2 separate regions of the Homo sapiens genome follow, and region 2 is linked to region 1. Evidence: promoter capture Hi-C in 16 types of primary human blood cells and fetal thymus (Javierre and others, 2016). All regions are on one chromosome and are shown on one strand. The core of a region is centred on a gene start or on the middle of the fragment in contact, and the rest is flanking DNA. Distances in the headings are between cores, read along the strand shown.

Region 1 (2,700 bases), core at 201-2,700:
ACACACACACAGACACACACCTGCTGGTTAAGAGTGTTCACAGATTGCTGCACTGGGACGAAGCGTTTTCTGCTCAACCCTGCTGGGTACAGCAAGGTAAGGCATACTGTACACCCCCATGAACACATCCTCCCTCTTCTCCCTGCCAGGGACACAGCCAGGGAACAGCTCGAGTACTTGTGCCTTACAAAGAAGACACGCTCTTTACCCTGTGTGTTGCCTGTGCATAGTGCCCAGCCTTCCAGCTGGTGTTTTAGGCTGTTGCTCCAAACCTTGGCCTTGGTAGCTGGGAGACTTAAATGAGGGTGGTGATGAAAATAGATCTCTTGCCTCTGAGAGAGAAGGGTGTGAGGACAGGCTCTTTCAAAAGGCATAGAAAGTGCATGCAATACAAGCCTGAGGACTGAATAAAGCCAAGACCTTGGGCAGTGATGGGTACCATTGTAGGTGCTTGGTAAGCACTGAATGAACTAATGCCTGCATGATGCCAGCTGGCGGCGGTGACAGCCGCAGTTTGCATAAAACACTGCTTACACTCTGGCCTTGAGCCTTCTGTTCAGAGGGGCCAGGGATCCCAGCTGAGTCACTTGTAAGGATCCATGTTTGCAGCTGGTCTTACTGCCAGAGAGCCCAGGAGGAGGCTAGAGGAGGGCGAAAGGCACAAAACTGGGTCTGAATGTGCAACCCTAGCTTGCCCTGGCCTAATGTTCTTGACTGCAAATGCTGCCCTTTTAATCCATCCCGCAAGATGAAGAAAATCTGAACTCCCTAGGCTGGCATTTTGGGGCCACTGCAACCTGCCTCTTGGCTACTTTAACCACCACAGTTACAAACAACCTGTGAGCCCCAGGCACGGCTGGAGCTTTCTCACCCTCCTTTAGGATTCTCCCATTTCCTCTATCTGGGATGCTCTCTCCCTACTCAACCTATTGAAGTTGAGATAATTCTTAGAAAGTTTCATACAGAAAATATTTCACAAATGTTTCGTATTACTTCTGGATCGCCCAAGTTTTAAGTTGTAATGGCCCCAGCTGGCCTGAGCTCCCAGAAGAAAAAGCCCATGAGATACTTATCTTCGTGGTTCATTCCATGGTTGCCCAGCATTAGACTGGACATAAGAAAAACAATTTGTTCAGTAAAAGTAAACAAGTTACCATTTTTTGGATGCTCACTGTATGCAGAACACTAGCAGGCACCGGGGTTCCAAAGCAAGCCCCTGATTGAGCGCGGGAGAGACGCAGACAATTACACGGCTGTGCTCTGAGCCTGAGGGACTTCGCGGAGGACAAAACTACGCTGTACCTCAGAAAGACCAGACCACCTCAGAACCCGACCACAACAGACGCCCCGCCCCCGTGCTGCCCCGCCCCGCCTTTTCGCCCCGGCTCCGCCCAGCCCCTGGGTAGCTTCCGGCGGAAGTTACCGCCCGTGCCGCGGTTCGGCGGCGGCATCCGGCCTCGCACTTCCGGTGGGGAGATTCCGGCCTGGAGCTCCCAGGGCCGAGGTGAGTGGGTGTGCGGCCGGCCTCCCGGCGCACTCCCAGAGGCTGGGGGGCCGGGGCTGGAGAAGGGAAGCGGGCTCCCCACCCGGGATCTGCGCGGGTTGACATGGGGCACGCCACGCCCCTGCCCCTCCCCGGGCCTCAGTTTCGCCGTCTGTGGAGGGGGCAGGGGTCTCCAAGCGCCCTCCTGCAAGGCACCTGCCGGACGCCGGCTCATCTGGTATTTCCTGAGCACCTGCGACGTCCTGGGTGCGGGACCCGGGCCGGAATCGGACACGGCCCTGCCCTCTGAGGGGCTGCTTCCCGCGGTGGGATTGGGGCGGGCAGTAAACACGTGAGCAAACAAGGAAACGTCAGAGGTGGGAGTGCCACGAGGATTGGGAGGGGTGGGGCATTGGAGAAAGTATTCAGCCAAGCGGAGGTCTGCGGAAGGGAGCTGAAGGCAGGAAGAGCAGCAAGTAAAGAAAAACACAGGTTTGATGTGTTTGACACGTGGCAGGGGGCCGCTGTGGCGGGTGCTGGGACCAGTGGCAGAAGAATGAGGTTACAGAGGCCTTCCTTGTGGACCAGGCTGAGGAGCTGGGCTTAGCCTTAGGGCATGATCTGTTTCGTGTGCCATCTCTCTGGCTGCTTTATAGATTCCAGGCCTTAGGGGCGAAAGAGGAAACAGGGAGACCAGTTAGACCAGTGGCAGTCAGCAGGTGAAAGATAATTGTGGCTTAGACTGTGGTAGTGGGAATGGAGAGGAAGAGAAGTAGAGGGGTCAAGAAGTGTATTGAAAGTGGAACTGACAGGGCAGGATTTGAGAAATGACAGAAATAAGTGGTCAAAGATGACTTCATCATAGATTTTTGGTTTTGGCTTAAGTAACCAAGTGTATTATGCTGGCATTTACTAAATGACTTTGGGATAGATTGGGAGCGTGAGAAATAATTACGAAATCTTCTTAGGGCATCTTAAGTTTTAGATATTTGGAGTGCAGCTACCAAATAGGCAGTTAGATATATGAGTCTGATACAGAAAAGGTCAGGGCTGATGTAAAGAATTTAGAAATCATTGGCAAGTGGATTGGGTAGGATGAGATTATGTAGGGTAAGATTTAAGAGAGAAGAGAAGCCAGGTTCCAAGCTTTAGGCACCCAATTTTTATAGATTGAGTTGACAAGAAGGTGCCAGCAAAAAAGACCAATAAGGAGTCCA
Region 2 (2,700 bases), core at 54-2,553, 250 kb after region 1:
ACCCTTAACGGGGAGGGAGGAAATGGCCTTCTCCTATGAACACCTGACTACTCAGTAAAACCAAGGACCTCCTTCCTCCCCAAGATTGCTGTATGGGCAAGGAAGAGGAAATTGGAATTTTGGGCTGTGGGTGTAAAGCGAGTTCTGCCTCCTTTAGTAAACCTGGAGGGAAACTATCTGGCTCCCTAAAATACAGGGTACAGAGGACCTGTTGGCTTTGGCTGTGGGCCAGCCATGTGGCTGATTCCTAAGGAACAAGGAATTTGCACTCAATCGCCTTTGGATCAGGCCATCCCTCACTTCTAACTTGAATTGTGGAGAGGAGGAACAGTGCCTCCTTTATCTTCTTAACCTAACACCCACACAGAGTCTGAACACCTGCCAGATGCTGAACAGGTATTTGTTGAATAAACGCAGAACTATAGAGTAATGAGGCTGAAGGGATCCCTCAGACCCACCTGCCCATTCCCACACCGTCCTGGGTAGCAGCCCATCTCCATAAGATGACAGGGCTCTCTAGCTGGGATTCCCAGGCCTAACTATGGACAAAAAGCTTTCCCTTTAGCTCACCAGTATCACGTGGGAATTTATCAAAGGGAACTAAGAAACTCAGAAAAGAACCCAAGCAGAAATTTGGAAAACCCAAGAGCCGGCAAAACAGATGCGAGAACAAAGCAGAGAATGTCTTGATCCTTATCTGGTTAAAGCCACTTACTCGGCTGATCTGATCCCCGCACAATGAGGCCTGGAGCCTGGTCCTCAGCCCTCCCAGACTCTGATGTTTGGAAGAAGAGATGCTTTGGTTGCAGGGGAAAGGATCCAAGTTTTTACTGTGACCTCAAGAGGCTGCGTGACCTGGCCATTGGCAACCTTGGTTCCCACCGCAGAGCTTTGGCTATGCTGCCCCCTCTGTCTAAAACGCCCCTCCTCCCACCTTTCATCTGCTGACTCTTCCTCACCATTCATGTCTCAGGGTAAGTGGCCCCTCCTCAGAGAGGCCTTCCCTGACCATCTTATCTAAAATGAGTTTCCTCTGCTACCCACCCACCTCCCCCGCCACTGTCCTCTCTTGTAGCACCTGTTCTAATCAGAGTTGTCCTTGCAAACAAGAGAAGATGTAGCAGTGAACTTAAATAAAAGAGGACACTATTGAAAGGGTGTTGGGCAGCCCAGAGAGCCGACAGGAAGGCTCAAGGGAGGCACCCAGGCAAAACCACAGGAGGCAGGGAATAGATGAGACTCTGCCACAGAAAAGTTCTATAAACCATCTCTGTGCCAGCCTACCTCCAAGACAGCCCTCAACAATCCCTACCTCCTGGTCTTCACACCCTTATGTAGTCCCCTTCCTTATTGTACCAGGGTTGGTCTGTGTGACCAACAGAAACCAGCAGAAGTGAGTGTAGGTCACATCAAGGTTAGGTTACAAACCCACTGAGGTCAGGTGCAGTGGCTCATGCCTGTAATTCCAACACTTTGGGAGGTCAAGAAAGGAAGGATCACTTAAAGCAAGGAGTTCTAGACCAGCTGAGCAACACAGCAATAATTCATCTCTACAAAAAAATTAAATAAAAATAAAAGGACTGAGGCTTCCATCTTATGTGTGCACTGTCTCACTCTTCTTTTTCTCTCTTCTCTCTCTTCTTTCTCTCTCCCTTCTCTGTCTCCTCTCTCTCTTCTCTCTCTCTTCTCTTTTCTCTTCTCTCTCTCCTTTCTCTGTCTTCTTTCTCTCTCTTCTCTCTCCTTTCTCTCTCTCCTTTCTCTTCTCTCTTTTCTTTCTCTCTTCTTTCTCTCTCTCCTTTCTCTCTTCTCTCTCTCCTTCTTCTTTCTCTCTCCTTTCTCTCTCTCTTCTCTTTCTCTCTCTTCTTTCTCTCTCCTTCTCTTCTCTCTCTCCTTTCTCTCTCTTCTCTCCTCTCTCTCTCTCTCTCTCCCCTCTCCCCCACCCCCTGCACTGTCTCCAGGCCCTCTGGGGAAGCAGCTGTCTGCCATGTCGTGAGGACACTCAGCACTCAGGCAGCCTATGGAGAAGTCCATATGGCAAGGATTCAAAGCTTCCAGCCCTCAGCCACATAGGAAGTGAAAGTGGAAGTGGAAGTGGAAGTGGACCCTCCCGCAGCAGTCAAGCCTCATATGACTTCAGCCCCAGCTGACACATTGATCCCAGTGGTGATCTAATCAGAACCACCCAGCTAAGTTGCTTCTGGATTCCTAACCCACAGAAACTGTGAGATAATAGATGTTTTCTTGTTTCAAGCCACTAAGTTTCAGGTCAACCTCTTACCCAGCAATAGATAATGAACACAATCTCTAACTACCCCTGAACTTGAGCATCACTCCTTCGAGGTTCAAAGTCTTGGGAAAGGAATCAGAGTGGCCACACTTGGCTTACAACGCACATTCTATGCCTCCTTGGCTTCCTTGTCAAGCCTCCTGCCCTCCTTCCCCTCAAGTAAGAAGGGTACACATCCTGAACATCCAGAACAATCCATCTGCCCTGCAATGTTCCCTCAGAACACTCGGCACAACTTGTTGTTCTCTATGCAGGATGACATTTTTCTCCTTTCCCCTTGCTCTTCCTAATTTTGGGCACACACCAAACGTAAGAACCAGAGAGGGCAGATAGTTTTTGGCCCAATAATGCAGGGAAAACATCCTCAAAGTTCTGATTGCCTTAAAAATGCCAGACCGTGAAGAAAGACCCAT

The links. The method cuts DNA at HindIII sites, captures the fragments that hold promoters and counts their contacts. A CHiCAGO score of 5 or more calls a contact.
Region 2: a fragment that was not itself captured here is called in contact with the fragment with the promoter of SLC35H1 in region 1 in 4 of 17 cell types (M2 macrophages, M0 macrophages, monocytes and 1 more); the score reaches 8.0 in M2 macrophages.

Annotation. Positions count from the first base shown.
Region 1 is chr20:46,363,175-46,365,874 of GRCh38, reverse strand. It overlaps SLC35H1 (solute carrier family 35 member H1), which reads left to right and starts at 1,450. Exons shown (of 10, transcript NM_015945.12): 1 at 1,450-1,504. It overlaps LOC124904917 (a long non-coding RNA gene), which reads right to left and starts at 1,336. Exons shown (of 3, transcript XR_007067614.1): 1 at 1,155-1,336. RefSeq lists a silencer at 1,310-1,729. The HindIII fragment of the contact is 17,737 bases long and covers 1-2,631 here.
Region 2 is chr20:46,110,847-46,113,546 of GRCh38, reverse strand. No RefSeq gene overlaps it. Among named protein-coding and RNA genes, the nearest start is that of CD40, 6.1 kb to the left of the region's middle. The HindIII fragment of the contact is 1,495 bases long and covers 556-2,050 here.